Regions from separate parts of the Homo sapiens genome. Here region 2 is linked to region 1. The links are contacts of gene promoters, found by promoter capture Hi-C in blood cells and fetal thymus (Javierre and others, 2016). All regions are on one chromosome and are shown on one strand. The core of a region is centred on a gene start or on the middle of the fragment in contact, and the rest is flanking DNA. Distances in the headings are between cores, read along the strand shown. Region 1 holds the start of MAP2K4 (mitogen-activated protein kinase kinase 4). Region 2 holds the start of TMEM11 (transmembrane protein 11).

Region 1 (5,858 bases), core at 1,517-4,016:
AGAGCCAGGAGTTTCAGGCCCATTTGGGGATTTCCTCAAGGATATCTTATAAATGTAAATTTGCTGGTTATTCATATGTATTGCTTAATTGCCTTCCCGTCTCCCCAGTGATTATGCCAGCTACCACCATTATTACTAAAAAGGTTAACTTTTTTTAAGCAATTCATTTTTCTGAACTGTGTATTAGTTTGCTAAGGGATGTCATAGCAAAAGAACCAATAAACAACATAAATGTATTTTCTCACAGTTATGGAGGCTGGAAGTCCAAGGTGTAGGCAGAGTTGGTGTCTTTTGAGGACACACTCTGTGGCTTGTAGATGATCATCTTCTCCTAGCTCTGTGTGTCTGCATCCTAATCTCTTTATAAAGACACCAGTCCTATTGGATTAGGGCCCACTCGTATGACCTCATTTTACTTTAAAGACCCTATTTCCAAATATAGTCCCATTCTGAGATGCTGGGGGTTAGGACTCCAACATGTAAATTTGGTGAGGGAGCAGAATACAATTTAGTCCATAAGAAATCATAAAACACAAATATGTAAGAGAAATGTGAGCATAAGAAAAAGTTAAAAAGCTCATACATAGCTTCCTCAGTTGGAACAAATCAAAGTGCTTTCTTGTTTTTGCCATATGCACATCTAATTATTGGCTCTTACTAGTTTACAATACCAACAGCAATGCAAGTATATGTCAGTTTTATCACAAACTCAGAATTAGGTATTCTTAAAAATAAGATTAGTTATATTTTTATTGTATTTCTCTTTTAATTCAGTTTCCCAATTTCCCTTAATGAATTTGCTAGGTTGAAGGTTTTCCTATATATATATAAATATAACTATATATATACATATTTTTTTTAATAGATGGAGTCTTGCTCTGTCACCCAGGCTGGAGTGCAGTGGCACAATCTCGGCTCACTGCAACCTCTGCCTCCCAGGTTCAAGCGATTCTCCTGCCTCAGCCTCCCTAGTAGCTGGGATTATAGGTACCTGCCACCACACCGGCTAATTTTTGTTTTTTTCTGTATTTTTAGTAGAGACAGGGTTTCACCACGTTGGCCAGGCTGGTCACTAACTCCTGACCTCACGTAATCCACCCGCCTTGGCCTCCCAAAGTGCTGGGATTACAGGTGTGAGCCAACATCCCCAGCCTTCTTTAATATATGTTATTTATAATATTGGATGTGTGTGTGTGTGTGTGTGTGTGTGTGTGTGTGTGTGTGTGTTTAAATTAATTTTCTAGTAGTTGCCTAATCTGTAGTGCTGCTTCTAGGATTTCTATTAAAAGAATATATATTAAATTCTTATTAAAGGCCAGTTATGATGGCTCATAATTAAGATGCCCTAGGAGCAACAAGAGCTGGGTGGGCTACTGATTTCCAGATGGGAATCTGGCCATGTTTATAAGACCTGGACTTGAAGATATTGGGCAGCCAACGAGGCCCATGGAGGAGAATTCTGGCGGGCTCTCCACTGAAGTACACCTACCTGCTCTCACCTTCAATTTGCCTTTAATGCCTCTCCACTTGATGTTTACGGCTAGCCACTTTTAGGATCTGAGCCATCAAGATGATGGATGAAATTGGGTTTGGAACAAGAAGGCAGGGCTATTTTGACCCAGGACACATTTCCAACATGCTGTGAAGAACTCTCAGCATCAAATAACATCTGGGTGGAAGAAGTTTTGGGAAAGAAGTCTAGCTGTAGATCACACAATGCTTCTAAATGGGAGAAAATGTCCAGCTCCATGGCTTAGATTCTTTGGGAAGTAGGATAACTGGCTATTCCATTTTAGGCAAGGCTGCCTGGCCAGAAACCCATGTCTTACCATTTCGAGTACATTATGGTTGGCTTACAAATCGTAGCCTCATAGAGAACTTTTTCTTCTTTTAGCTACTGTCTTCCTAAAATAAAAGTCTCTGTGCAAAGCAATGGAAGAAACCTCATATTGTTTTTTGGGGTTGTCATTTTATGTAACTTACAATAATGACTACGGCTCGTCTTATACAAGATGTAAAGGATTTGGGAGAGGGAATCCAGTGTGCATTTAGGGGAAGATGGTGATGTAGATAGCATATTTCAGGAGGCTGGGAAGTGTCGAGTGCTTAAATATATGCTTCTCAAATTTAATGGGCATACAAATTACCTGGTGGTATTATTAAAATGTAACCTCTAATTCAGTAGTTTTGGGATGGGTCCATGGACAGCACTTTGGTTAGTTCCCCTTGGGACTCCCCTTTCCCCTCAGAGAAGTGTAGAGGGTTGGGGTATTGGGCTTAAGAGGAGTTCCAGACTGTAACCATAGCTCTAGGTAACTCCCTTCTGGAAGTGATGTGTTAGCGACTGGAGGAGAAAGGGATCCCTGGGATCCTTTTCAGCTTTACTATTCTGATTTGGGGTTCTGAGATTCCAACAAAGTGGACTTTTGGGAGTCACAGACCTCCATGGGAATGATGAAAGCTGCGTACCTTCTTTCCGCACAAATGCAGGCCCACCTTTAATTCTGCAAACCACTTTAGGCCCCGCGGGCCCGCAGCCCTGGTCCAAGACAGCTGTCTGCTTCACAGGTCGCGCACCCAGAGCCGGGCGGTTCTGCAGCTCAGCATCTGGCCCGGGCTGCGCGTCGGGCTCTGGCGGGGGCGTGTCAGGAGGCGTGTCCGGGGCGTGTCGGAGGCGGGGCCAAGGCGGGGGTAAGCCTCGCCCCTCGGCCGTGCGAGAGGCCGAGCTTGCTGCATTGCAGCCGCCGCGGCGCCGCTCGGCTCTTCACTCCCAACAATGGCGGCTCCGAGCCCGAGCGGCGGCGGCGGCTCCGGGGGCGGCAGCGGCAGCGGCACCCCCGGCCCCGTAGGGTCCCCGGCGCCAGGCCACCCGGCCGTCAGCAGCATGCAGGGTAAGGAACGCGGCCGCGCCGAGATCCCAGCCCCCTAGCGCGGCAACCCGCGTCGTCGCGGCCTGCCCCAGCGGACGCCCCCGGACCCGGCTGAGGAAGCCACGGCAGCCGCCGGCTTCTCCCTCTCTCCCTCCCCGGCTTCCCGCCCCGCTCCCGGCCGCCTCCGGCCCGGCTTGGATCCGGGCTCCGGCCCGCATAGGCCCCGGCCGCGGCCTCTGCCTGCGCTTGGCCCCTGGGCCCTACCGGGCTCTCAGCAGGCCCGCAGGGCCCACCTGGTCCGGGACCGCCCCCGCGGCCGTCCCCATCGCCCCCGCCGCTTACCTGGCGCCCGCCCGGCCCCCGTTTCCGGGAACGCGCCGGCTCGGGGCTGCGGCGGAGCGGGAGGGGCGTCGGGCCTGCCCCCTGGTCCCTGACGCCGCTCAGGTAGGCGGCGAAGACAGCGGCCCCGGCCGGCGCCCCTCGGCCCCGCCGCCGCAGTGGGCCCCGCTCAGGGCCATCTTGGCTGTCGCCGGGCACAGCTGGAGCCGGACCACCGAGCTGACCTCGGGCTACGGGGGCCTCTTGGAACCTGCGTTTTCAAACTTTTGCAGGGTTTCTGTGCGCTGGAAGGGATGGGGGTGGGGGGCGGGTTGCCCAGGCCTGTGCCACCTGTAAGGTAGGTAGGCTGCATTGGCCTGGGAGAGGCATTTTGTTCCAGGCCAGGGATTTCTGTGTTAGCATTGCGTGCAGGAAGAAAAAAAAAAAAAAAAAAAAAGAAGACTTAATTTGGTTTAAATGGAGAGATACAGGAAATAGACAGGGGTCAAAGTGATACTGTAGTGTCTGGACATTTGAGGCAGCTCTGCTAATTAATGACTTTCCCCACTGGGAATGCTTATTAGCTGTGTATGGCTTTTGACAGGGGGTGTTGTGAAAATACCAGGCCAGGCCCGAGCCTGTTAGGGACCATTTCCTTAAATTTACTGGGGAATTTTGAGTAGTAATGCTATTTTTAAAACAGGGAATCTCAGAACTCTCTTGACAACTTTAGCAAACTGCTTGTGTTGAATTATTAACAGAATAAGGGTTGGGGTACCCTTGGTAGTCAGTGTGACCATGGTTACTTTTTGATTCCATTCCTCTTAAAGGGCTTCTAGCATTTAGTTAGGTTCAACAGACATTTATTGAATAGTTCATGTTTATAGAGCATGCCATAATTCAGAAAGAAGAGACAGGATTTTATTTATCTTTACATCCCTGTCACCCTCCCCATGAAATAATTTTAATATACATAAAAACCAGTGATAGATATATAGACAGGATGATGTCAGAGCTTAGAGGACACTTTCTGTGCAGGCCCTCAGATAATTCATTCAAATTGAATTAGTTATTGGATGCCCACTGTGTTGCACAGCACATTATACTGATGAAGTATAAGATTGACTTCCTGACTGTACAGCTTTACAATTTAGGTGGTGGTGGTTGGGGCGAAATGAAATGGCAAAATGACAATTTAGGATTGTATTTCTTGTTCCAGATGGGTGACTTACAAAGCTTATAAAAACAAGGTGATTTGTTTGTTTGTTTTATTGGTGGGGAGGCTGACAGTTTGAAATAGCTGGATACAGTGTGTTTTTTTGGTTCAAAAAATATTTATTGAGCATCTGCATAAAACGCTCATGCTGAGTTTATAGAGAATTGAACATCTCTAACTGTCCTCATGGAGGTTATCCCCCTGTGAAGATGGGGGAGGGAAGGCTATTTAGCTAAACATGAAAAATTACTAGTTGGAAAAGTAATAAAGGTAACAAGCTGGGTTTTGTGATAGAAGATAATAGAGGGCAGTCCGCTTGATAAGATGGTCAGAGAAGGCTTGTCTGGAAAGCTAACCCTCTTTTACCTGAAGACGGTTCTAGGCAGAGGAACTGTGTGTATGAAGGTTCCAAAGCAGGGAAGAGCTTGGAGTGTTCTAGGAACTCCTAAGGCAGTGGTTAGGACTTTTTCTGATGCTGTCCGTTCTCCTCAGCCCTTGTATGTTGATACCCAGTTAACTAAACTTTCTAATAAGCAGAACCCATTTTAGAAGGAAAAAGGACCTAAGACCTCTCTATGAATTATTGCCGAATTTTCTTTTTTATCAATATTGTGTCTAGTCTTGATTGATTCAGGAATGTGTTATATCTTGTTCTTGAAACTTTTTTCATTAGTCAGAATGAAGTGCTTGATATTCTCAGGATGTTGTCTAGAACAGTCTGTTATAAAGCTTGAACTTAAGCAGCAATTTAGGATCCTTCTTTTTGGTTTGTTTTGTTCTGTATCTTAATTGTGAGGCCCTTGAAGAGGAAATCTTATAAGAACCCAAAAAGAAAGATTCCCATCCAATTGTATGGGAGTCACACCTCCCATACTGTACTTCATCTGCCAAGGGTCTTCTTTTGCTTTAGATCAGACTTCACAGAGTGGGCCTTAGAAGATGTTTGATGTACTTCCATTCCTTCTCCCCCAATCTAATTATACTTGCCACTCAAAAAACTTCCTTTCTGGGAGTTGTTAATGACCATGCTCTCTGAAACAGCAGGATTCAGTTGTGGAACATAAGGAATGTTTCATGCAGTAGACATTGGACATCCTCTTATGTGGTAAGCACTGTGGTGGGCACTGGATAACCTTGAATACTTTTTCATGGCTTCATGTTTATGGCCCAAGAGTGGTCCAGGCTGGCCAATATTGCTTTCTTAATATACTGCTTAAGAACCAGAGCTCTGGAGTTCTGGGTTTGAATCTCTTGGCCAGGATTCAGATATGCGTTTTGTGACCAGGGGCAATGAACTTGGCCTTTCGAAGCCTCAGTTTCTCACTTGGAAAGTGGGAATAACGCTTACCTCCCCGGTGGCTTTGAGAATGCATGTAAGCCTGGGACCTGACATGTAGTAAGGATGCAATACACATTAGCCATCATTGTTAGTAGCGACAATATTGTTATGGTCT
Region 2 (5,845 bases), core at 851-3,350, 9.2 Mb after region 1:
TGCACACCCCAGGTTGCCTCATATCATGCTCAGAAGCAGATCAAGTACATCTTCACGTGATTATAAAAACAGGAACTCAAGAGCACACAGCTATACTCACATTCCAACAATCACGGAGGGCTCTGGGAGGTTCAGGGGCCCTGAGACAGTGAAGCCGAGCAGCCCAAGTAAGACAGGCAGGGCTGTCTGTGAGCTGGTCCGGGCTGGCACACGGTGGCAGAACACAGATACCTGCACTGTGCTTTCCTAGATGGGCAAGTGTGTCTCAAAGACGCCGACAGGACAAGTGGCAATCTGTTTGATGTGCTCGTTGCCAGTGTGCTGAATTTTGGACAAGAATTCAGGTTACAGCTCAGAGTCTGATGTTCTTCATTACAAACACTGTTGGTTCCCTAGATTTAATGGAGTGGAGAGAAAAATCAACATGCAAGCACTACCATTTTGCTATTTCCACCCCTCCTATCTTAGTCGAAACCAGCACTGTCCATATCATAACTTTCTGCAGTGATGGAAATGTCCTCCACCTATGCTGTCCAATATGGTAGCCACAGGCCGGAAGTGGCTATTGAGCACTTGAAATGTGGCTAGTGAGACTGAGGAGCTGAATTCTTCATTTTACTTAATTTTAATGAATTTAAATGTAATTGCCACATGTAGCTGGTGACTACTGAACTGCTGTGTTAATTCAGCACTAATTCTAGAGCTGTGGTTCTAGACTCAACAAGGTAAAGCAAGAACCCACACGCTACACGTGCTAAACTGGACCATCCAACACACAGCGCCGGCAGTAATACTGCAGGCAGTCTGGCACTGGGTGGGACCTTTAAGTACAATGCATGCTTCAGAGTTGGTAGCCGCTGGCAAATCTGGCAAGTGTGCCCAAAGTGTCACTCTGTTCTAGCCCCTTCCCCAAACCAGATAATGTTTCCCTCAGCTTCAGCAAAAGCAGATGCTAACCAGGTGTGAGCAGCAACGGGAGAGAGCACTCGTATAACATGGAGCTGAGATTTGAGTCAGCACGAATGTGACATGGAACAAAGTCATTTTAGAGAGCCATAAACAGCCTACTTCAGTCATAAGAGCCAATAATACACTCAGATCTCATAATCTAGAGTGCTGGGCCATCAGCTAATCCGCCCTGCCCCACCTGAACAGTCATCACCAACTGAGCAGGAATGGAGGGATGCCCAGAAGTCAGCTCGCTAGCCCCACAGCGGGTTATGTTTCCATCCCCTGCTCAGCATGGGAAGAGCTTAGGGAAGCTGGGCTCGGGGAAATGACTCTTCCAACAGAACCTGGCTAGGGGTTTACAGCAAGAGCAAACAGACAGGTAGTCTCCACCCATACCACGTTATCTAGGAGAGTAGATGGTGACATCCAAACTACAAAACCAAATGCCACATTCCTGCTGACACACAACATCTGCGTGTGTGAGTAGAGCCTTCAGTTCCAGGCCAAAGGTGCAACCTGAACACCTACAGAGACCAAGCAGGCAAATGCATTGAGTCAAGCTGACAGGTGATTTGAGTCAAGCTGTCAGGTGATTTGAGTCAAGCTGTCAGGTGAGGAACCAAGAACTGGAACCAAGCACTTGTCCCGACCAAAAAGAGTCAGCCACTACCCAGCTTTTCAGGGAGCGTTTTATATGAAATCTGCTGGCAACTAATTTAAATTCTCTTAAAAACTGTTGAGGTTCAACAGTCAAGGACTGGATCCAGCCTATGCACTGCTAATTTGCAGATCCATTTTGAATAAACAGTTGTCTCAAGCCAAAACAAAAACAATTCTCAGCATCTATTTTCTTAGATCAATAAAAGCTTAACCTGTGCTGGCAAGGCTCCTGTTCCCTGCCTGAGGCATCCCTATTCGGCTCTTTTCAGATGCTTTTAGTCCAACAAGAGGGCGTATGTTTCTAATACTTTGTTTTCTAAACAGGTTATTTCGTATTACTGTTTGCATTGAATATCTTGAAAATGTTTGCTAGTTTTTAAGAGCATCTGAAAACCATTGAGGTAACTTATTTAAATGGTCCAATCTAATACCAGGCGGGAGTTAGAAAAACAAAAGTGTGTTTACCACTGCTTTTCCAAGGAAGAGGAAATGCAGAATGGGCAACGCTGGATAACTGGGCTAAAGAATAAAGTGCAAGCAAGCTAAAGGATTCTATCACAACTGCCAAACAGGAAGAATCTTCCCAGCTGGGAAAGCCATCTGCAAGCAATAGCAATGAACACGGGATGGAATCAGTCACAGAAAAGGAATAATGCAGAGTAGTTGAGAGGAAGATAACTTTTCTGTTAGACAATCCTCACCAAAAAGACGGGGAGGGGGAGAACCAGCAAAACAAAAACTTTTCCTTTTTTGCTGACCGCTGCTATAACAATCAAGCTTTAGCGGACAGTTAATCCAGGTGGCTCCACCAATACATCTTCTCCCAAATTTCTAGTGGCTGAACAGCTTCTAGTGGTTTCCACTAGCTGAAACTGCTTCCCAGATGCAAAAACTGCAACTTGAACATGAAACACGGAAACTACTCCAATCTCATCTTCTAGAAATCAGTTATTCAAATGGAGGTCCCTGTTGGAAGAAACACGCTCCTAGCTCCCTGCCCACACACCATTCATTAGGAAAGGTCACTTTAAAGGACTTCTACGGCAGGAGCGCTTGCACAGAACCATCCAAAAGTCTTCAGAATCTTCCCTCGAGGAAGTGGCCGGCTCTGGGCTCGGAAGAGACACATCTGGCGGGAGCTAAAGCTCCCTAGTAAACGTGCAGATCAAACTACCCCTGCCGCGGCCGGCCTGCTCTGTGAAGGCTTCCCCTTCTTTCTCTCTCCGGGGGCCCTGCCTTCCTCTACACGTCTGGGGCCGCGGCCGAGATGGCCACGCGCGTGCCCAGGCGGGAAGGGTGCTTCAGCAGCCGATCGGCCCGCGGGCAGCTAGGCGGGTCCCTGAGGCCTGCGCTGGGCGCCAGTTCCTTTCAGCACGGCCCGGCCTCGGGCCCCGCCCCGCATGGCCGCTGCCTACCTTACTCAGCCCGGCTAACGCCCCTTCCCCTAAGCTCTCCGCCGAGGCCTTCGACCTCGCTCCCACCCGGATCCCGGATCCTCCGGAACTGGAACCCAGTATGCCCGGCGAGGGTAGGGGGAGCGCGGGGAAACCAGGGAAGGAAGGCTGCTGCAGCCCTCGGAGGCCGCGCTGGGCTCTCCGGCCGCTGAGCCGCCTGCACTGGGGGCAACAAGCCCTTGGATCTCACCTCTCTCGGGCGCTGCCGCCACTGCTGCCCGGGCCAAGACGCCTCCTTCCCCAAGCGGCCATCTTGGAGACACTCTGCTTGCCAACGTCTCGCGCCAAGGCGGCATCGGGAGAGCAGGCGGGCCGACGGGAAGTGTAGTCCGGCCTGCGGTCCGGGGCCGCTCGGCAGGCGGAAGCCAGACCCGGCGGAACTACCGTGCCCACAAGGCAGCGCGCCGGAAGCCCCGCCCCCGGGGTCGCCGGGGCCCGTAGTCCTTCTGCGAGGGCGCGAGGACTCCAGGAGCCGTCCTGGTTCGAGCATTTCTGAAGAAACTGAGTTCCCGGCGTTCGCAGCCTGGGAGTCACAGGCGCCCACCCACCGGTAGGTCCTTGAGTTTCGAGAGCCAGTAGCTGAAGGAGAGAGGAGAGGCAAGTGCCTACAACTCCCAGAGCACTGCGCGGAGGCGCCCGGCCGCGCTGTCCTGGCCGCCAGGCTGCCTCTCCCGCTGGGGGCCGCCGCGCTGTCTGCGGGCTACTAGCGCCGGGCCCCTCCGCGTCGCCACGCCTGCCCTTCACAGCCTTGGCCCATAAGGTCACCGAGGGGCGGGAGGCGCCGCCCGGGCCCTCCTTGGAGGCGGGCGCTGCTCCCGCACCATCCTCCCCCAGTTCTCTTAGACTCCGGGGTACTTTGGAGGCCGAGACAGACACGCTGTCCCTGCTGCCACGGAGGTCCCTGCTTGCAGGTGCAGGCTGTTAGAGGAGAGGGTCTGAAAACAAGAAAGGGGAATAGCTGTATGATAACTGCTTGAAGGCGAGAGGGCCCAGCGACAGCTCTGTTTTAGACAGGGCCTCCAGGCCTCTTAGACTCAGTCCCTGCCACGCACCCACTCCTGCCCTGGCCGCTGCGACGGCATAATCTCGGGATCTTTGAAGGCAGATGCGGGGCTAAACCATCCCACCTGACGGGAACCCTGCCACAGGACCCGACATATCCCTGTCTGGACACTGCTGTAACGAGTCAAAGTCAGGAAGGACTAACTGGAGCCCAGAGATTCCCAGGTGCTGCTGCCTCAGACCTGTGGACTCTTTGGAGGATCTCTTACAGTTTGTGAACTTCTCAGTTCCTCTACTGCTCCCACAGACAACGTTGCTAAACATATTAATTGGTCCCATAAATACTTGAGCAAAACAAATGCGAAAATCTGTCCCGAATTCAGCCTAGAAGAAGCCCAGCCCTGCGCGTCACACTTCTGTGTAGTGGAACCCCCCTTCCCACCCCGCCGCAGGCCACAGCAGGAGGGCCAGCAGACGGAAAGGCGACCCTCTCCTTGTTGAGGATTCCTTTCGATTTCCTTCCAGCTGACATTCTACCACAGTTTTAGCTGCTTGCAATCCTCTCACCGTCCCTCATCACCTACAGTGTGTGATTCAAATTCCTTAGCACAATCAAGAAGCCCCTCCTTAGTTTGGAAGTTGCCTAGCTCTCCAAATTCAACTGCCTACCTTTCCCGTCTGGAACTTGCCAGGCTAGTAAATTCAGAGGGTTTGCAGATACGTAGATGTTCTATGCTTTACCTAAAATGCTTTTACCTCCCAGCCAACTTTTTTTTTTTTTTTTGAGACAGAGTCTTGCTCTGTCGCCCAGGCTTGAGTGCAGTGGTGCGATCTTGGCTCACTGCAACCTCCGCCTCCCAGGTTCAAGCAATTCTCCTACCTCAGCCTCCTGAGTACCTGGGATTACAGGTGGTGCCACCACACCCAGCTAATTTTTGTATTTTTAGTAGAGACGGGGTTTCACCATGTTGGTCAGGCTGGTGTCCAACTCCTGACCTCATGATCCATCCCCCTCAGCCTCCCAAAGTGCTGGGATTTACAGGCATGAGCCACGGTGCCCAGCTCTCCCAGCCAACTTTTGTCCTTCAAGACCTTGTACCTGTCTGGTCTCTAAAAAGTACCTGGCCTTCCTGTTGAGTCATACAGCCCTGCCTCCAAGTGTCAGCGTAGTTCATGCTGGAGACCTCTTAACAGTTCCATGGTATGACACTGCGGATATGGCTGTCTTTTCTTTGTATCAGTGTGGTGATTCAGAGGGTATACTAGGGATTCTAGAACGCACTTCTGGCTCAGGGGCTGCTTGTGTAACTTCTGTTTCTCAGCTGCCTGGTTTGTATCATGGGATGATAGTATCTCCCCTCAGAGGATTGCGGTATTTCATGAGGTGATACGTGTATGGAGGCCAAGTGCTGTTTTATATTTTAAGTGATCTACATCTTGATTTTCACAACAACTGTATAAAAGTGATACTGTTGGCCAGGTGCGTTAGCTCACGCCTGTAATCCCAGCACTTTGGGAGGCCAAGGCGGGTGGATCACCTGAGGTCAGGAGTTCAAGACCGGCCTGGCCAGCATGGTGACACCTCGTCTGTACTAAAAATACAAAAATTAGCCGGGCATCGTGGCACACGCCTGTAATCCCAGCTACTCGGGAGGCTGAGGCATGAGAATCATTTGAACCCGGGAGGTGGAGGTTACAGTGAGCTGAGATCGCACGACTGCACTCCAGAATGGATGACAGAGCAAGACTCTGTCTTAATAATAGTATCACTTTTTTTT

The links. The method cuts DNA at HindIII sites, captures the fragments that hold promoters and counts their contacts. A CHiCAGO score of 5 or more calls a contact.
Region 2: a contact is called between a fragment that was not itself captured here and the fragment with the promoter of MAP2K4 in region 1, in 1 of 17 cell types (fetal thymus). The highest score is 5.8, in fetal thymus.

What each region holds. Positions count from the first base shown.
Region 1 is chr17:12,018,111-12,023,968 of GRCh38, forward strand. It overlaps MAP2K4 (mitogen-activated protein kinase kinase 4), which reads left to right and starts at 2,767. Exons shown (of 11, transcript NM_003010.4): 1 at 2,767-2,891. The coding sequence starts at 2,777. It also overlaps a transcript of ZNF18 not described here. RefSeq lists an enhancer at 2,567-3,067 and a silencer at 2,604-3,483. The HindIII fragment of the contact is 6,257 bases long and covers 1-4,422 here.
Region 2 is chr17:21,210,836-21,216,680 of GRCh38, forward strand. It overlaps TMEM11 (transmembrane protein 11), which reads right to left and starts at 3,326. Exons shown (of 2, transcript NM_003876.3): 1 at 3,256-3,326. The coding sequence starts at 3,317. TMEM11-DT (TMEM11 divergent transcript) reads left to right here and starts at 3,490. Exons shown (of 2, transcript NR_184102.1): 1 at 3,490-3,615. RefSeq lists enhancers at 3,228-3,327, 4,098-4,307 and silencers at 3,408-3,547, 3,668-3,937. The HindIII fragment of the contact is 571 bases long and covers 1,816-2,386 here.